2 separate regions of the Homo sapiens genome follow, and region 1 is linked to region 2. Evidence: promoter capture Hi-C in 16 types of primary human blood cells and fetal thymus (Javierre and others, 2016). All regions are on one chromosome and are shown on one strand. The core of a region is centred on a gene start or on the middle of the fragment in contact, and the rest is flanking DNA. Distances in the headings are between cores, read along the strand shown. Region 1 has its middle 55 kb from the start of TOP1. Region 2 holds the start of PLCG1 (phospholipase C gamma 1).

Region 1 (3,462 bases), core at 560-3,059, 160 kb before region 2:
AATCAATTATTATCAGACTTCTCAAGAGCAATGCTTTATACCAAAAGAAAGATGTTACATGTTTAAGATGTTCAAAAACAAAGAATATGTTAATAATTTTATGTCCAGCAAAACTGACTTGAAAGTATAATGGGCAGAGGCAAATTGTTATTAGCATGAAATAGAGGATATTGTTCTCATGGGCTCTTCCTGTAAACGTCTTAGATCAAAAGCTTCAGACAAGCAAAATGACTAGGAAGACAAAAAATGAAATTTAAAAAACTGGTAATGAACGTTAAACATATAGTTACTTATGCAACTAAGACTAAATGAGAATTGTAAAGGAGAAAATATAGCAGGTAATGGCTATACACCCTGACAATGTAGCTACAAGACCACTTTTTTTATTTTTAATTTTTGTGGGTACATAGTGGTTTGGTTTTGTTTTGTTTTGTTTTTGTTTTTGTTTTTGTTTTTGTTTTTGTTTTGAGACAGAGTTTCACTCTGTTGCCCAGGCGGTTGTGCAGTGGCGCAATCTCAGCTCGCTGCAACCTCTGCCTCCTGGGCTTAAGGGATCCTCCTGCCAAAGCTCCCAAGCTGGGACCACAGGTGCACACCACCATGCCCAGCTTATTTTTTAAGGTTTTTTTGTGTAGAGACAAGGTCTCACTATATTGCAGGCTGGTCTCGAACTCCTGGGCTCACGTAATGCTCCTGCCTTGGCCTCTCAAAGTGCTGGGATTACAGGCGTGAGCCACTGCACCGGGCCATAAGTGTATATATTAATATTTGTGGCTTACAGAGATATTTTGATAGAGGCACACAATGTGTAATCGTCAGATCAGGGTAAATGGAGTATCCATCACCTCAAGCGTTTATCCTTTGTGTTACAAACAATCCAATTACTCTTTTAGTTATTTTTAAATGTACAACTATTTTTTATGATAGTCACCCTGTTGTGCTAGCAAATAGTAGGTCTTATTCATTCTTCCTAATTTTTTGTACCCATTAACCATCCTTCTACTCTGTGTCTCCATGAATTCAATCATCTTAATGTTTAGCTCCTACAAATAAGCAAAAACATGCAGTCTTTTTTTTTTTTTTTTTTTTTTTTTTTTTTGCAGCAGAGTCTCTCACTGTGTTGCCAGGCTGGAGTACAATGGCATAATCTTGGCTCACTGCAACCTCCGCCTCCCAGGCTTCAGCGGTTCTCCTGCCTCAGCCTCCAGAGTAGCTGGGATTACAGGCACGCGCTCCTGAACCCAACTAGTTTTTTTTTATTTTTAGTAGAGATGGGGTTTCACCATGTTGCCCAGGCTGGTCTTGAACTCTTAACCTCAAATGATCCAAATGATCCACTTTGGAAGCCTCGGCCTTCCAAAGTGCTGGGATTACAGGCATGAGCCACCGCACCTAGCCCGAAGTTTGTCTTTCTGTGCCTAGCTTATTTCACTTAACATAATGACTTCCAGTTCCAACCATGTTGTTGCAAATGACAGGATACCATTCTTTTTATGACTGAATAGTATTCCATTGTGTATATGCACCACATTTTCTTTATCCACTCATCTGTTGATGGATTGCTTCCAAATCTTGACTATTGTGAATAGTGCTGCAGTAAACATGAGAGTGCAAATATCTCTTTGATATACTGATTTCCTTTGTTTTGGGTATATACCCAGCAGTGGGATTGCTGGATTGTACGGTAGCTCTATTTTTAGTTTTTTGAGGAACCTCCAACTTGTTCTCCATAGTGGTTGTACTAATTAACATTCCCACCAGCAGTGTACAAGAGTTCCCTTTTCTCCACATCCTCACCAGCATTTGTTATTCCCTGTCTTTGGGATAAAAGCCATTTTAACTGGGGTGACATGATAACTCATTGTAGTTTTGATTGGCATTTCTCTAATGATCAATGACTTTGAGCACCTTTTCATATACCTGTGTGCTATTTATATGTCTTCATTTGGGAAATGTCTATTCAGATATTTTGCCCATTTTTAATAGAATTATTAGGTTTTTTCCTATAGAGTTATTTGAGCTCCTTATATATTCTGTTATTAGTCCCTTGTCAGATGGGTAGTTTGCCAATATTTTCTCCCATTCTATGGGAGGTTTTTTGAGGGTTTTTTTTATCATGAAGGCTGTTGAATTTTATCAAATGGTTTTTCAGCATCAATTGAAATGATCTTATGATTTTTGTCCTTCATTCTGTGATTCTATGATTCTATGGGTTGTCTATGATTCTATGGGATTCTATGATTCTGTGATTCTGTGGGTTTCTCTTCACTTGTTGATTGTTTCCTTTGCTGTGTAGAAGTTTTTTTTAACTTGGTGTGATCCCATTTGTCCATTTTTGCTTTAGTTGCCTGTGCTTGTGGGTTATTATTACTCAAGAAATCCTTTACCTCTCCAATGTCCTGGAGGGTTTCCTCAGTGTTTTCTTTTTGTGGTTTCATAGTTTGAGGTCTTACATTTAAGTCTTTAATCAATTTGGATTTGATTTTTCTATGTGGTGAAAGATAGGAGTCTAGTATCATTCTCCTGCATGTGGATATCCACTTTTCCCAGCACCATTTATTGAAGAGAATGTCCTTTCCCCAATGTATGTTATTGGTACCTTTGCCAAAAATGAGTTCACCCTAGATATATGGATTCATTCGGGAGTTCTCTATTCTGCTCTACTAGTGCATGTGTCTGTTTTTATGCCAGTACTATGCTGTTTTGGTTCCTATAGCTATGTAATATAATTTGAAGGCAGGTAATGTGATTCTTCCAGTTTTGTTCTTTTCGCTCAGGATCGCTTTGGCTATTCTGGGTCTTTTGTGGTTCCATATAAATTTTAGGATTGTTTATTCTATTTCTGTGAAGAATGTCATTGGTGTTTTGATAGGGATTGCATTGAATCTGTAGATTCCTTTGGGTAGTAAGGACATTTTAACAATATTGATTCTTCTAATCCATGAATATGAAATATCTTTCCATTTCCTTGTGTCCTCTTCAGTTTCTTTCACCACTGTTTTATCATTTTAATTGTAGAGATCTTTCACCTCTTTGGTTAAGTTAATTCCCAGGTATTTTATTTTATTCGTGGCAATTGTAAATGGGATTAATTTCTTGAATTCTTTTTCAGGTTGTTCGCTGTTGGCAAATAGAAATGGTACTGACTTTGGTATGTTGTTTTTGTATCCTGCAGCCTTATTGAATTTGTTTATCAGTTCTAATAATTTTTTGGTGGAGTCATTGGATTTTTTCAAATATAAAGATTATATAATCTGAAAACAAAGATAATCTGAATTCTTTCTTTCCAATTTCGATGCCCTTTATTTCTTTCTCCTGTCTGATTGTTCTAGATAGGATTTCCAGTACTATGTTGAATAACAGTGATGAAAGTGGCCATCCTTGTAGTGCTTCAGATCCTAGAGGAAAAGCTTTCAGTTTTTCCCCATTCAGTATGGTACTAGCTATGGGTCTGTTGTATAT
Region 2 (3,825 bases), core at 1,326-3,825:
AGCAGGGTCCACAGAACTTCAAGCCTAAGCCAGTTCAAGCCACACTCTGTGAGCACTCACGTTCTGCTGGATTCCCTGTGCCCAAGGCCAGCGGTGAGCATGCCTCCCCTCACCCATGCTGATTAACCAGATAGCCTCCATGCCCACTGACTACTGACCACCAGGACTTACCTAAGCCAGTGGATCTCCTGTGAGGCAGAAAACTCATGGAGTCAGGCCGACTTGGGTTCTAGTTCCCACCTAGTCATGTTATGTGGCTTTGGGGCAAATTGTAGAACTTCTCTGAATCTCTGTTTCCTCATCAGTAAATTGTGGACCATCATTCCTGATTAGAAGATAATTATGAGGATCAGGTGTGACCACAGGTGCACACCTTCAGCACAGGGTCTACGCTAGCTCCGTCCCGCCCACGTAAAGACCTGCCACTAGGTGGCAGTCCATCTCAGCTACCCCACCGCTCCTTACTCCACAGAGGCTGGCTAGGACAAAGGGTCTCAATGTCATGCTGAATTCTGAGCTTCTTAGGGGACGCACTTGAGGAAATCAACGTTAACACACAAGTTTCCACTACAGCAAGACAAAGTCAGAAGCAGCAGCCCCAGGTCACTATCCAGCTGAGTGGGTTGCCTGAGCACACGCTCTTACAAACTCTAGTCTAGTCCTACTATCTCACAATTCCCAGGAAGCCTGGCTCTTTCTCTGGCATCAGCTGGAAGCTCTGTTGGGCTTCTCACCTCTGAAATGCAGTAAGTTGTCCTGCTGTGCCTGGCAGCCGACCCACTGCCTGGCTCAACATGTCAGACAGGCTCCACCGCGACCGTGGGTGTCCTCAATTTTGGCGGTGCTGACAAGGGTAGATAGATTGCAGGGGTGAGTTTCAAGAATGGCTTCAGAAAGACAAAGAGTATGAATTATATTCCATAACCAGAAAAAGGCCTTGTGGCTGGAGAATGGAGAGTGAAGGATCACTTGTGAGAGATGAAACTGGTGAGATGGGCAGGTCATATAGAACCTGCTAGGCCAAGCAGGGAGTGTGGATTTTAGGTGCAATGGGAATTCACGGAGGGTTTTAGCCTGGATGTAGGGGATCATGATTTAATTTCATTTTAAAGATTTAAAGCATGATAAATCCAGGCAAAACCAAACTGATAGATCCAGGCAAAACCAAACAAGGTGAGTAGTCTGGGTGACAGGAGATGGGGCCTTCAGCTTGTGGGCTGAGTGACAAGGTCTTGATGGATTGGAGGTGAGGCAAAGGGAGGAATCAAAGTTAGCTGCAAGGTTTTTGACCTTCCAACTTAGAGAAGTTTAGCGCCGCGTTCTGAGAAAGTGAAGACTGTGGAAGGAATCGTTTGGGGAGGGAAGGCGAGCTGTCTAAGGGGGGGGGATGTGGAACATGCAGTGGGATGCTGGGGCCTGGAACGTAGGGGAGATGCAGGTTTGGAGTCACCGGTGCCTGTGTTGTTGGGCAAAGCCAGGGGAAAGGTCAGGTCGCCTTGGGATCTGGCCTAGCACTGAGTGCAGAGGAAGAGAAGCTTCTGAGATCGAGAGGCAGCGGCTACAGGAGGAGGAAGAAAGCAAGGCGGGGAAAACCAAAGTTCAGGAGAGCATTTGCAGGAGGGCGCTGCGGGGTAGGGTCTGAGTCGGAGCCCCGAATCGGACTCGAGTCCTGTCGCGTGGGGACGGAGCGTGCAGAGGCCCATGCGAGGGACAGACACAAAGGCCCTGGGAGCTGCAGGTCAGACCACTGGACAGCGCGGCCGCGGACCTAACGCCCCTGTAAGGGGTGCTCACGCTTGGGGGGAACTCTCCGAAAGAGAGGACCACTGAAAGCCACCCTGGCAGCAGGGGCGGAACAGACAGACGTGGGTCTGGCCGTCGCCAGAACTGCCTGCGGACCAGCCCCGCGCTGCCGGGGGGGCGGGACATGTCGGCTGTCCATCAGTGCCCGCGACCAATCCGCAGGCAGCCCCGCCCCCGCCCCTCCCGGGAGAGGGCGCGCGGAGGACCCGCCGCCGCCGGTGTGAGGCGGCCCGTCCTGGCTCCCTTGTCCGGGAAGCCCGCCCAGGTAACTGAGTTTGGCCGGGCATTCCCGGAGGACGCGCCATCCCCTCACGTCCCGTCCCGGTCGCTGCATGGGCGGTGTTCGGGACGCGGGGGCTGCGTCTGTGCGGGACCGCGGGGTAGCGGCCGCCCGTGCGAGTACGCCTGACTGACGCGCCGGCCGCCGGGCCTGCGGCCTGTGGGCGGGGCTGCCGTGCGTGACAGGGCCGCTCGTGGCCGCCGGGCTGTGTCCGGGGCCGCGTGAGAAAGCTCTGCGGGACTGAGGGCTGGGTGGGTCGACCGGGAACGGCGCGCGCTCCCGCCGCCATCGCGCCTCCGTCCCCGCCTGCGGCCTGTCTGGGGGTCGCGGGGCGCAGGCGCGGCGGGCCGACGGGCGGGGGTCCTCCCCACGGGTGCGCGGGCGCCTTTGTTCCCGGCGCCGAAGCGGGGTGGGGCCTCAGGGCAGCCCCGCCCCGCCGCGCTGAGGCCCCGCCCCGTGTCCGCCTGCAGGAGCCGCCGCCGGGTCCCGCTCGTCTGCCGCCTCAGCCTCAGCCCCAACCTCAGCCGCCGCCGTTGCGCTTGCTCCCGGGCGGTCCTGGCCTGTGCCGCCGCCGCCCCCAGCGTCGGAGCCATGGCGGGCGCCGCGTCCCCTTGCGCCAACGGCTGCGGGCCCGGCGCGCCCTCGGACGCCGAGGTGCTGCACCTCTGCCGCAGCCTCGAGGTGGGCACCGTCATGACTTTGTTCTACTCCAAGAAGTCGCAGCGACCCGAGCGGAAGACCTTCCAGGTCAAGCTGGAGACGCGCCAGATCACGTGGAGCCGGGGCGCCGACAAGATCGAGGGGGCCAGTAAGTGCGCCCACTTCCTGCCTGGGCCCGCCCCGCGCGGGGGTCGTGGGAGCCCGGCCCGACTGCTTGCACCCCGGCCGGCCGCCCCAGCGACTTGGGCAAACTTTCGGGCCCTCCCAGACTCCCTCCGGGCCCCGCCCCCGCTTCGTCTCGGGTGGTCACTGGGGGCGGGGGGCATCCGGGTCCTCGGTCACCTGACAGGACACCCCCCCTCCCCCAGCTGGGGGGAGTGTTCCAGGCGCTTTGCCCTGAGGCCTAAAAATCCTCGCGGGCTGGAGACCTGCGGTGCAGGCATCGGGCCCCCCAGACCCTGGGAGTGGTGGCGGCGTCGGCGAGGGGAGCTAAGGCAGTGGCCCCCACCCTGCACGGGAACCTGGGGCCTGACCAGACGGTCCCCGCCCACTCTTTATCCAGAAAGAGCAGTCTGTGAAACTCTCCGGGCCCCCAGGCTGGGCTCTTATTTGCAAAGGAATCTTTGGGTTCCCTAAGTAGAACTTAGGCAGATGTTGGGTAGGGCTGGTCTTGGAGCAGAGCTGGGCCTACTCATCTCCCTCTGGGGGAGAGGGAGGAAGGTGGTCTTGTTTGGTTTGGAGAAGCCTGAGAGAAGCCAGTGGCTGGAATTTTTTTTTTTTTTTTTCTGCTACTTTTGTCCCAAAGCTGGGTTTTGGAGGCCTATGTGGGTGGGCAGACACTCAATGCCAGGGCAGGGACTCCCCTTGCCCTGGGAAGCACGTTCCCAGGAGATGGGCCCCATAAAGGCCTGCCCCAGCGCCTTGGAGTCAGGTATTCTTCTCAGGAGTGCAGCTAGTTTGTGAGTCTAGCCCTTTGTCCTCTGTCCGGTGGCTTCAGGGAGCGGGAGCGGCTTCTCTTAGTTTCCTGCCTTTTCGCCTTCCCAGGCCTGAGCTTGGCTGCTTTTGCGCTGGTCTCTAGTGGG

Evidence for each region. Contacts are between HindIII fragments. The CHiCAGO score rates a contact against its expected background, and 5 or more counts as called.
Region 1: a contact is called between a fragment that was not itself captured here and the fragment with the promoter of PLCG1 in region 2, in 12 of 17 cell types (activated CD4 T cells, naive CD8 T cells, non-activated CD4 T cells and 9 more). The highest score is 17.7, in activated CD4 T cells.

The regions. Positions count from the first base shown.
Region 1 is chr20:40,971,818-40,975,279 of GRCh38, forward strand. No RefSeq gene overlaps it. Among named protein-coding and RNA genes, the nearest start is that of TOP1, 55 kb to the right of the region's middle. The HindIII fragment of the contact is 3,198 bases long and covers 211-3,408 here.
Region 2 is chr20:41,134,968-41,138,792 of GRCh38, forward strand. It overlaps PLCG1 (phospholipase C gamma 1), which reads left to right and starts at 2,576. Exons shown (of 32, transcript NM_002660.3): 1 at 2,576-2,891. The coding sequence starts at 2,675. LOC124904903 (translation initiation factor IF-2-like) reads right to left here and starts at 2,546. Exons shown (of 2, transcript XM_047440629.1): 1 at 735-2,546; 2 at 1-325. The coding sequence starts at 2,372. The coding sequence ends at 1,791. It overlaps PLCG1-AS1 (PLCG1 antisense RNA 1), which reads right to left and starts at 3,033. Exons shown (of 7, transcript NR_109889.1): 1 at 2,747-3,033; 2 at 735-844; 3 at 172-325. RefSeq lists enhancers at 1,091-1,875, 2,660-3,444, 3,366-3,465, 3,614-3,693 and silencers at 1,846-2,835, 2,956-3,215. The HindIII fragment of the contact is 8,103 bases long and covers 1,534-3,825 here.